Regions from separate parts of the Homo sapiens genome. Here region 1 is linked to region 2. The links are contacts of gene promoters, found by promoter capture Hi-C in human tissues and cell types (Jung and others, 2019). All regions are on one chromosome and are shown on one strand. The core of a region is centred on a gene start or on the middle of the fragment in contact, and the rest is flanking DNA. Distances in the headings are between cores, read along the strand shown.

Region 1 (5,816 bases), core at 874-3,373, 350 kb after region 2:
ACAATCAAGGCTCACTACAGCCTTGACATCCTGGGTTCAAGTGATCCTCCTACCTCAGCCTCCCAAGTAGCTGGGACTACAAGCATGTGCCACCATACTTGGTTCATTTTATTTTACAGAGATGGGATCTCACTGTATTGCCTAGGCTGGTCTCCTAAGCTCAAGTGGCCTCCCAAAGTGCTGGGATTACAGGCATAAACCACCATGCTCAGCCTGTGTCACTTCTTAATAGAGAAAAATAAAAATTCCCAAAAACACAATTACAGGTTAGATTTTTTAAAATCCTGCCATGTAAAAATGGAAGCTAATTGTGAATACACTAATTTTTGAAGATATTAAGGTTTAGTAATTTATCACCTATGATTATGACTACATAGCAAATATGTCAGACAATTTCCAAAGGAAAACAACCAAAACAACCTTTTATACTCACCACTGCAGAGTTTAGTCAGTTAAGTAGACTGGTTATTATACTAGGAATAATCCATGTGTACTGAGAATAAGACAGTAGAAGAGAATGATTTCCAGCAGTCTATTTTATAACTAAACCCACAACTTTTTAATATACTGCTTACTATCCATTATAAGGGGCAACTGATTGCTAAAAACCCCAACTTATTTCCTGGGGAGATCAGAAGTCTATCTGCATTCTCTTGGTAAGAAATACATTAGCAGCTCTAAGACCCCATGAACTTTCACAAGCCACAGAAATTCTGAAAGTCAACATGAAGGGTACCTAACAAATGGCCTAACAGAGGTTGATACGAACCCTCAGACATCATAAGAAGGCAGAGAACGCACAGCCATAAAAAAGAATGAAATAATGTCCTTTACAGCAACACAGATGCAGCTGGAGGTCATTATCCTAAGCGAATTAAGGCAGGAACAGAAAACCAAGTATCTCATGTTCTCACTTACAAGTGGAAGCTACACACTGGGTACACATGGACATAAACATAACAATAGGCCTTAGGGATTAGGAGGGGGAGGGAGAAAACGGGGTAAGGGCTGCAAAACTAATCATTGGGTACTATGCTCATTACCTGGGTGATGAGCAACAATTGTACCCCCAAACCTCATAATCACACAATATACCCATGTACACAAAAAAACTTGGACATGTACCCCCGAATCTAAAATAAAAGTTGAAATTGTAAAAAATTTTAAGAGAACAGAAGATACCTTGCACCTTTCTCTTTATATGTATAAAATATATATTAAAAACCATATATTAAAATATAAAAAAGATATACAAATATATAAATATAAAATATATATTAAACATTTATACATATATATATAAATTTTTTTTTTCCAGATGGAGTTTCACTCTGTCACCCAGGCTGGAATGCAGTGGCGCGATCTCGGCTCACTGCAACCCCTGCCTCCAGGTTCAACCGATTCTCCTGCCTCAGCCTCCTAAGTAGCTGGGACTACAGGCACATGCCACTGTGCCCCGCTAATTTTTGTATTTTTAGTAGAGACGGGGTTTCACCATGTTGGCCAGGCTGGTCTCAAACTCCTGAGCTCAAGTGATCCACCCACCTCGGCCTCCCAAAGTGCTGAGATTACTGACGTTGAGCCAGTCACCAACGCCTGGCCTCTGTAAGTATCTTTTTTTGATGTTGTTGTTTTTGAGACGGAGTCTCACTCTGTCACCCAGGCTGCAGTGCAGTGGCACGATCTTGGCTCACTGCGACTTCCGCCTCCTGGGCTCAAATAATTCTAATGTCTCAGCCTCCCGAGTGGCTGGGACTACAGGCGCATGCCACCATGCCGGCTAATTTTTATATTTTTAGTAGAGACAGGGTTTCACCATACTGGTCAGGATGGTCTCAAACTTCTGAGCTCTGGTGATCCTCCCACCTCAGCCTCCTAAATTACTGGGATTACAGGCATGAGCCACTGTGCCTGGCCTTATTTATTTTTTTAGACAGATTCTTGCTCTGCCACCCAGGCTGGAGCGCAGTGGCACAATCCCGGCCACTGCAACCTCTGCCTCCAGGGTTCAAGCAATTCTCCTGCCTCAGCCTCCTGAGCAGCTGGGATCACAGGCGTACACCACTATGCCCAGCAAATTTTTGTATTTTTAGTAGAGACAGGGTTTCACTATGTTGGCCAGGCTGGTCTCAAACTCCTGACCTCAGGTGATGTGCCCGCCTCATCCTCCCAAAGTGCTGGGTTTACAGGTGTGAGCCACTGCGTCCAGTCGATAGATCTTTACATTAGAAAAATGTTGACTGAAAAGCTTAGTCTGGTATTCTCACTATACAGAATGTTAAATGACATTAGGACAAGGAGGGGAAAAAAAGCAATTATAAGTCATCAGGTCGGGCACAGTGGCTCACACATATAATCCCAGTACTTGGGGAGGCAGAGCCAAGAGAATCGTTTGAGCCCAGGAGTTCAAGACCAGCCTGAGCAACATAGTGAGACCTTGTCTCCATTAAAAATTAAAAAAAAAATTAGCTAGGTATGATGGCATCCATCTGTAGTCCCAGCTACTCGGGACTGAGGCGGGAGGATCGCCTGAGCCCAGGCTGCAGTAAGCTATCATCACACCACTGCATTCCAGTCTGAGTGACAGCGCAAGACTCTGTGCCCTTACTGCCCCCCCCCAAAAAAAGTAATCAGTTTTTCCTGAGGATGAAAGGAAAAGCTAAGTAACTTTTACTAGATGCAGGACACTAGCCAAAACGAATAAAAGTTATTAACTCTTTTAGAGTAAAAGCTAGGTTTAAAAGTTAAACAAAATAACCATTTTACTCTGCTATTCCTGAAAACATATACGCCATCATCTTATCTGAGAGCTTAAAATACATCAAAGCAAAGTATCAGTGAACTAGTACCAGGAAAGTTGTAGACTACAATAAAGAATGAGGAGGAGTTGAATTGGGAGAATAACTTGGGCTGAGAAGCAGAAAAATAATAGTGACCATTTCTTTCACAGTGACTGGGAACGGAAGCAGCCTTTATCTGAAAAAGCACTCATCTATTTAATCACAACTGTACCTCTCACTTCTCTGACATTAATTTTCATTTATTTTTTGAGACAGAGTCTCGCTCTGTCACCCAGGCTGGAGTGCAGTGGTGAGATCTTGGCTCACTGCAATCTCTGCCTCCTGTGTTCAAGCAATTCTCAGCCTCAGCCTCCTGAGTAGCTGGGATTACAGGCACGCATCACCACGACTAGCTAATTTTTGTATTTTTCGTAGAGATGGGGTTTCATCATGTTGGCTAGGCTAGTCTCAAACTCCTGACCTCAAGTGATCTGCCCGCCTCGGCCTCCCAAAGTGCTGGGATTACGGTGGCTCACGCCTGTAATCACAGCATTTGTGTGAGCCACCCAGTCCAGCATTTTTTTTTTTTTTTTTTTTTTTGAGACAGAGTCTCACTCTGTCATCCAGGCTGGAGTGCAATGGTGCCATCTCAGCTTACTGCAACCTCCACCTCCCGGGTTCAAGCGATTCTCCCGCCTCAGCCTCCCAAGTAGCTGGGATTGATTACAGGCACCAAACATCATGTCCGGCTAATATTTGTATTTTTAGTAGAGACAGGGTTTCGCCATGTTGGCCACGCTGGGCTTGAGCTTCTGACCTCAGCTGATCCACCCTCCTCAGCCTCCCAAAGTGCTAGGATTACAGGTGTGAGCCATCACACCTGGCCGATCACCGTGCTCGGCCAATTTTTAAAAGAACAGTTAGGGCCGGGCACGGTGGCTCACGCCTGTAATCCCAGCACTTTGGGAGGCCGAGGTGGGCAGATCACAAGGTCAGGAGATCGAGACCATCCTGGCTAACACAGTGAAACCCTGTCTCTACTAAAAAAATAAAAATAAAAAATTATAAAATAACAGGGCTTTTTGTATGTGTGTGTGTAGAAATAATTAAAAGGGAAATGAAAATGTTTCTTCTAAGTTAAAAAAAAAGTTAAGAGCATTCTAGTATTTTGTTAACAATCTCCCCTCCCATTTGTTAATATTAAAGGGTATGGTCAAAACAAAACAATTATTCTAACAGCTACTTGAAGAAAGCCCACTGAAGCTTTGAATCTAGGAAATACGTACTAATAAAATATTTGTAATGGCAACAGTGAAACTAGTATGGGAGGAGGGGAAGGAGTTCTTTTGCTACAAAGAATAATAAAGGCTAGACAATAATTCTTTCGCCAAAAGGTGGCTGACGCTGCTGTAGAAAGGAACTCTCTTCTTTAAAAAAAAAAAAAAAAGTTCTAACTGTTCTTTTTCTTTTTTTGAGACGGAGTTTCGCTCTTGTTGACCAGTCTGGAGTGCAATGGCGCCATCTTGGCTCACTGCAACGGCCGCCTCCTGCGTTCAAGTGATTCTCCTGTCTCAGCCTCCTGAGTAGCTGGGACTACAAATGCCCACCATCATGCCAGGCTAATTTTTGTATTTTTAGTAGAGATAGGGTTTCACCATGTTGGCCAAGCTGGTCTCAAACTCCTGACCTTAGGTGATCCAGCCATCTTGGTCTCCCCAAATGCCGGTATTACAGGTGTGAGCCACCGCGTCCAGGCTCTTTTTCAAGTTAATGGAAGAAATCGGGTATTAGGTGTTGAAGCGTCATTTGGGGCTGGAGGCAGGGAAGGGAGAGAGAGTACAAGCATATGTACTAGGGGTAGTCTTCAATCAGTACTGTGCTAAAGCTGACTCCCAGATAAGCTTTGTCTTCTGCACGAGGTTCAGTTCTTAGGGAGCTCCTTGTCTGGCAGGCAGAAAGAAAAACAAATAGCAGCTATATAGTGTGATGAGTACTGTAACAACGGTTAACATACTTCCTACCACCCTGGCATAAAGGATGACTTCAGTGGGTGAAGGGCTTTAAGGAAAGGAATTGCTACAGCTGGATATCAAATGATGAGGTGGACCTTGCCTGACAAACTACAGAACAGGTGAACGGTATATAACAAAAATATGTATGGAATTAGACCAATTTTGTGCAGAAGAAATTTAATGTAACTGAGTGGAACTGTATTAAGCCATCTCAAATTAATATTATTATAATTATTTATCTTTTTTAAGAGGTGCGGTCTTGCTCTGTCTCCCAGACTGGAGTGAGCGCAGTAGTGTAATCGTAGCTTGCCACAGCCTTGAACTCCTGGGATCAAGTGCCTCTCTTGCCTCAGCCTCCTGGGTAGTTGGGACACTACAGGCATGCACCACTGCACCCTACTATTTTATTATTATTATTTTGTAGAGGTGGGGTCTTGCTTTGTTGCCTCGGCTGGTCTTGAGCTTCTGGCTTCAAACAATCTTCCTGCCTCAGCCTCCCAACATGTTGGGATTATGGGCATGAGCCATTACACCCAGGCCTCAAATTTATTATTTTGAGGCTGGGCACGGTGGCTCACGCCTGTAATCCCAGCATGTTGGGAGGCCAAGGCGGGTGGATCACTTGAGGTTAGAAGTTCGAGACCAGCCTGGCCAACATAGCGAAACCCTGTCTCTACTAAAAAAAAATACAAAAATTAGCCGGGTGTGGTGGCGTGCACCTGTAATCCCAGCTACTTGGGAGGCTGATGCATGAGAATCGCTTGAACCCAGGAGGTGGAGGTTGCAGTGAGCTGAGTTCACGCCACTGCACTCTAGTCTGGGGTACAGAGTGAGAATCTGTATCAAAAAAATATATATTATTTTGATGTGGTTTCAGAGCCCTCTGTTAAGGGTAGCCTGTTTATTTCACTTATTGAACATTTACAAAGATAATGCTCATCTGTGAGTCAACATTGGTGCCATAGTACCAACAGGAGGCTGCCTCCCAAGTACATGCTGTCCTCTCTCTGCTCTCCATAGCCCA
Region 2 (5,816 bases), core at 3,317-5,816:
CTCCTGCCTTCCTGCGCACCCGTCCTCGGGTGCCTTCCTGGAGGGCTCATGCAGCTGGCCCTGCCCATGCGTGGGACTCCCACGCCCACCGCAGTGACTCTTAAGTATCTCTGACTGGTTGCATTCAAATGGTCCAGCTTATCTTCCATCCTCCCCTTCATGCATGGCAGCCTCTCATCCAGCTGGTCACTCAGGCCAGAGGCCTGAATGTGGCCTAGAGTCTCCAGGCACTGAGCTCTTCCTGCTGCCCCTGCACCACCCTCTTCAGCTCTGCCCTGTTACTCCCCTTCCTACCTCCTCCAACAGCAAACCCTTGCCCATCCTCTGCGATCTGGCTCCGAGGACTCCTCCACAGTAGTCTCATTGCCTCAGGCCATGGAGGTGGCAGCAATGAGGTTGAGAAGACCTTGCTGAGCCATGCAGGGCAGGGCCGGGCCACGCCCCGTTTCTGGGCCAGGCCCAGCCTGACATCAGGTCCCCAGCTGCCGAGGAGGCTGCTCTTCGCCAACCGCCCTCTGTGCCGCAGGTTCTTTCTGATGTGCTACCTGTTCGTGAACCTCGCCTGTGCGGTGCAGACACTCCTGAGGACCCCCAACTGGCGGCCCCGGTTCAAGTACTATCACTGGTGAGCCATGCCTCTGACACGGGAGACCCTGGGGAGGCCAGGAGCCTCATTCTGGGTGAGGCTTGGGTTTCCTGGGTAGGGAGCTCTTGAAACACTGTGGGGAGGGAGATTATAGGGCTGCGGGGGACTGGACCTAGGTCTTACACCCAGTGACCTGACCACCCACCTGGGACCTCCCACCCGGGACCTGACAGGGCTACCAGGGCATGGGCCAGGCTGTGGCCAGGGGTCCTCCTGGTCCTGCCCTGACTCTGCCCTCCCCTCTCGTCCAGGGCGCTGTCCTTCCTGGGCATGAGTCTCTGCCTGGCCCTTATGTTTGTCTCCTCCTGGTACTATGCCCTGGTGGCCATGCTCATCGCCGGCATGATCTACAAATACATCGAGTACCAAGGGTGAGTGAGCACTGCCACCTGGCCTCTGCCAGCTGAGGGGGCCCGGCCGAGCAGGCAGGGTGGTCTGGCATTGGGGTGGGCAGGGAGCTGGGCCACCGTGGGTGCCAGGACTGGGGACTGTAACTCAGGACCCCTGGGTGGTCTTGAGGGGCAGAACCCCTCCACCTCGCATCCACATAGACAGAACCCCCTGGGCGGCACCAGGGGCTCACCAGCTGTGGTGGAATCTGCAGGGCTGAGAAGGAGTGGGGTGACGGGATCCGAGGCCTGTCCCTGAGCGCTGCCCGCTACGCGCTGTTGCGGCTGGAGGAGGGGCCTCCTCACACCAAGAACTGGCGGTGAGTTCCCGCCAGACCCTGGCCAGGGCGCAGAGGTTCTTAGGGGTCGCTGTCGGGGTCAGAGGGTCGAGAGGTGCCGGCTCCCCATCCTGGGGCTGCCCGGGGCACCCTCCTGGGCCATGCTACCCAAACCTGCAGGGACCACGACCCGAGAAGGGAAGAAGAGGAGGGGCTCCCTAGAACGGCCGGCCCTGGTCTCAGGCTCCCCCCACCCGGCCACTGCAGGCCGCAGCTGCTGGTGCTGCTGAAGCTGGACGAGGACCTCCACGTGAAGTACCCGCGGCTCCTCACCTTCGCCTCCCAGCTCAAGGCTGGCAAGGGCCTGACCATTGTTGGTTCTGTCATCCAGGGGAGCTTCTTGGAGAGCTATGGCGAGGCTCAGGCCGCCGAGCAGGTACTTGCTTTGGGGAGGGAGAGCTGAGCCAGACTACAGGGGTCTGGACTGCAGCTGGCACGGAGGGGAGGGCCCAGTCTTGGCCAGGGTGGCCAGCCAGGCAGCCAGCACTGCTGCCACCTGAGAGCTGGCACAAGGGGGAGCCAGCAGTCCCATCTTGAAAACTTGGCCTCTGGGTAGGCAGCTTGTTGCCCCCAGGCCCTCCTCCACCCAAAAGTCGTTTTGTTCCCGAGGGGCCTTGGGAGGGAGCCCAGAGGCAGGAAGCTGATGGCCTCCCATTGGCCCTGGGTGTGTTCCCCACAGACCATCAAGAACATGATGGAAATTGAGAAGGTGAAGGGCTTCTGCCAGGTGGTGGTGGCCAGCAAGGTGCGGGAGGGGCTGGCCCACCTCATCCAGTCCTGTGGCCTGGGAGGCATGCGGCATAACTCCGTGGTGCTGGGCTGGCCCTACGGCTGGCGACAGAGCGAGGACCCCCGTGCCTGGAAGACCTTCATTGGTGTGTGAAGGCCTGGGGCCTGGTGGGCAGGGGTGAAGTGAGGTGGCAGTGGGCGGAGGGCCACAGACTGGTGGTCAGCCGTGCTCCTCCTCCCCAGACACCGTGCGCTGCACTACGGCTGCCCACCTGGCCCTGCTCGTGCCCAAGAACATCGCCTTCTACCCCAGCAACCACGAGCGCTACCTGGAGGGCCACATAGACGTGTGGTGGATCGTGCACGATGGTGGCATGCTCATGCTTCTGCCCTTCCTGCTGCGCCAGCATAAGGTAGACCAGGGGGTGGGTGCAGATGAGAGGGGCTAGGCCCTTGGAGGAGCAGCTGTGACCAAACCGCCCACCTGGTCCCTTGCCTCAGGTCTGGAGGAAGTGCCGGATGCGCATCTTCACAGTGGCCCAGATGGATGACAACAGCATCCAGATGAAGAAGGACCTGGCTGTCTTTCTGTACCATCTGCGCCTTGAGGCCGAGGTGGAGGTGGTGGAGATGGTGAGCCCTCTGCCCTGCCCTGGCCCCGTGGATACCATGTCCCGTGCAGCTGGGTCCTCACGGCCAACCCTGTCCCCAGCATAACAGTGACATCTCTGCATACACCTACGAGCGGACGCTGATGATGGAGCAGCGGTCGCAGATGCTGCGGCAGATGAGACTGACCAAGACTGAGCGGGAGCGAGAAGTCAGTGCCCTTTGTGGTTCACGCCAGGGCGGGTGGCAGGGTCAGGCCTTTGGAGACCGCATCGGTGGGTGCGGAGGAATCAGAATGACTCACCGCAGCCCTACCCAAGCTAGTGCTCATTTCCCGGAGGCAAGGTGGTCACATTGGGCCAGACAGGCCCCATCCCCCTTTTCCTATGGGACCAAGGCTATCTCCTGCAATTGTCCTCAGGCCCAGCTGGTCAAGGATCGGCACTCGGCCCTGCGGCTGGAGAGCCTGTACTCGGACGAGGAAGATGAGTCTGCAGTGGGGGCTGACAAGATCCAGATGACGTGGACCAGGGACAAGTACATGACTGAGACCTGGGACCCCAGCCATGCCCCTGACAATTTCCGGGAGCTGGTGCACATTAAGCCGTGAGTGCAGCAAAAACAGCCCCAGCGGCACTGGAATCTAGGGGTGGAGGTGGGGTGGGGCAGACAAGTAGTGTTAGATGGGCCAGGGGTGGGGACCCTCCTTGCAGGATGGCTCATGGCGACCTGTGACTGGCTACACTACGTGTAGGGACCAATCCAATGTGCGGCGCATGCACACTGCTGTGAAGCTCAATGAAGTCATTGTCACGCGCTCCCACGACGCCCGCCTGGTTCTCCTAAACATGCCTGGCCCACCCAGGAACAGTGAGGGCGACGAGAACTGTATCCCTTTGTGGAGAGGCAGGCAGTTGGGAGGTGGATAGCATGGGAGGTCAAGCCAGCGGCTTCTCTCCTGGGCACCCCTGGGTGGGCATGGCCCAGGTGGCCCGGGTTGCCCGTTGATTCTGTTGTTGCCTCCTTGACTTGAGGCCCTGCAGACATGGAGTTCCTCGAGGTGCTGACCGAGGGCCTTGAGCGGGTGCTGTTGGTGCGCGGTGGTGGCCGTGAAGTCATCACCATCTACTCCTGAGCCCAGTGTCATCTTGTGGCCTGGAGTCGAGGTCTTGGCCAGGACATAACAAGCTGTGGTCTGGGGTAACAGCCTCTTCCCAGCACCCACCTGCCAGCCCTGCTTGCCTGGCCCTGTCCTGGACCCAGCTTTGCTAGGTCTCCTTGGAAACCAGGCCTGGGCCTCAAAATGGAGATGGATCCCAGGTCTTGTGGGACCCTGGGATGTTTGGGGACTTTACTATCTAGCACCCCAGTAGGCCTGTCCTGGCCAGAGAAGACTGGTAGGGGCCGAGTGGGGTTTGAAGGCAGCCGGCCCGGCCCAGCCCAGGAGCGCTATTTATTGCATATTTATTGTTTGGATGTCACCATCAGAGACGAAGGGAAGGGTAGCCAGGGAGGGAGTCCAGCCCAGCTGCCTGCAGGAAGATCTGGCTCAGTCTACTATGGGCAGGGCCCCCCACCAAGCTGAGCCGAATGGAGACAGCTGAGCTGAGGCCTGACTTTTTCAATAAAACATTGTGTAGTTCTGGGCCTCCTGCTGCCCCGGCTCTGTTTCCCCTGGCGCCAAGAGAAGAAGGCGGAACTGAACCCAGGCCCAGAGCCGGCTCCCTGAGGCTGTGCCCCTTTCCGGCAATCTCTGGCCACAACCCCCACTGGCCAGGCCGTCCCTCCCACTGGCCCTAGGGCCCCTCCCACTCCCACACCAGATAAGGACAGCCCAGTGCCGCTTTCTCTGGCAGTAGGCACCAGGGCTGGAATGGGGCCGCCCGGCTCCCCATGGCAGTGGGTGACGCTGCTGCTGGGGCTGCTGCTCCCTCCTGCCGCCCCCTTCTGGCTCCTCAATGTGCTCTTCCCCCCGCACACCACGCCCAAGGCTGAGCTCAGTAACCACACACGGCCCGTCATCCTCGGTAAGCCCCCACCAGGCCCCTGATGCACCACGCCAGACCCTGGGGAGCCTGGGCCCCAGCCCCTGGCAGCTGACCTGGCCAAAGCCCTTCTGCCCTGCATAAGCCCCGACATAAGTACCTGCCCTGGTGTGGGGAGGGGCCAAAAGCTTGTCCCTTAGAGGAATGACGTCCCTTCTCCCACCACACTGTGACTCTCAGTTGTCTAACCCAGGGGGGGCGGAGTGGGGGACGGGGTGTGCCTGAGGTCTTGGCTGGGGCATCACAAGCTGTGGTCAGTCACAGCCACACCAGACTCTGGGCCAAGCCCCACCACTCCTTCCTTGGCCCCCACCCACCAAGGACAAGATGCCCAGCCCAGGATCGGTGAGCAGGAGAGGCCCATCCATGCCCGGCCCCTATTAGGCCCAGCCCCCATGCCCCCAGACCTATCTGTTCCCACCTTGGACTTTGGCAATAAAGGAGCGCCAGACTGGGTGTTTGCTCTGCAGAGGCAGGGGTCAGCGGCCTTGGCCTCAGCACCTCAGCGCCTTCCCTTCCTCAGGGAAGCCTGGGCTTTGGCTACTGGGGGGACAGCAGGGAGAGGGGGTGTAAGCAGGGGAGGGTAAGTGTGCTTTGTACCTGGGGGTTGAGGGTATGGGAGGTGGGGGGTGGGTCTGGTCACTGCAGCATCTGGGGTGACGGGGGTAAGGGTCACGGGGGGAATCCAGAGTCCAGAGTGAGGGCTGCTGCTCACAGTGCCCGGCTGCCTGGGGAATCAGCTAGAAGCCAAGCTGGACAAACCAGATGTGGTGAACTGGATGTGCTACCGCAAGACAGAGGACTTCTTCACCATCTGGCTGGATCTCAACATGTTCCTACCCCTTGGGGTAGACTGCTGGATCGATAACACCAGGTACAGCCATGTGCTCCACCCTAGCCCCAACACGCTGCCCCTTGGCTACTGGCTGCTGAGTGGCACCCCCGCCCCGCAGGGTTGTCTACAACCGGAGCTCTGGGCTCGTGTCCAACGCCCCTGGTGTCCAGATCCGCGTCCCTGGCTTTGGCAAGACCTACTCTGTGGAGTACCTGGACAGCAGCA

Evidence for each region. The method cuts DNA at HindIII sites, captures the fragments that hold promoters and counts their contacts. A contact is called where the count stands out against the background at its distance.
Region 1: a contact is called between a fragment that was not itself captured here and the fragment with the promoter of LCAT in region 2, in 1 of the 25 tissues and cell types used here (dorsolateral prefrontal cortex).

Annotation. Positions count from the first base shown.
Region 1 is chr16:67,588,525-67,594,340 of GRCh38, reverse strand. The region is part of intron 2 of CTCF (CCCTC-binding factor); the gene reads right to left. Among named protein-coding and RNA genes, the nearest start is that of CTCF, 29 kb to the right of the region's middle. The HindIII fragment of the contact is 6,285 bases long and covers 1-5,265 here.
Region 2 is chr16:67,942,870-67,948,685 of GRCh38, reverse strand. It overlaps LCAT (lecithin-cholesterol acyltransferase), which reads left to right and starts at 4,566. Exons shown (of 6, transcript NM_000229.2): 1 at 4,566-4,738; 2 at 5,474-5,630; 3 at 5,710-5,816. The coding sequence starts at 4,585. It overlaps SLC12A4 (solute carrier family 12 member 4), which reads left to right. Exons shown (of 24, transcript NM_005072.5): 14 at 527-625; 15 at 898-1,017; 16 at 1,251-1,355; 17 at 1,581-1,749; 18 at 2,053-2,248; 19 at 2,346-2,515; 20 at 2,604-2,735; 21 at 2,815-2,922; 22 at 3,133-3,317; 23 at 3,466-3,599; 24 at 3,755-5,212. The coding sequence ends at 3,846. RefSeq lists an enhancer at 5,435-5,816. The HindIII fragment of the contact is 35,269 bases long and covers 1-5,816 here.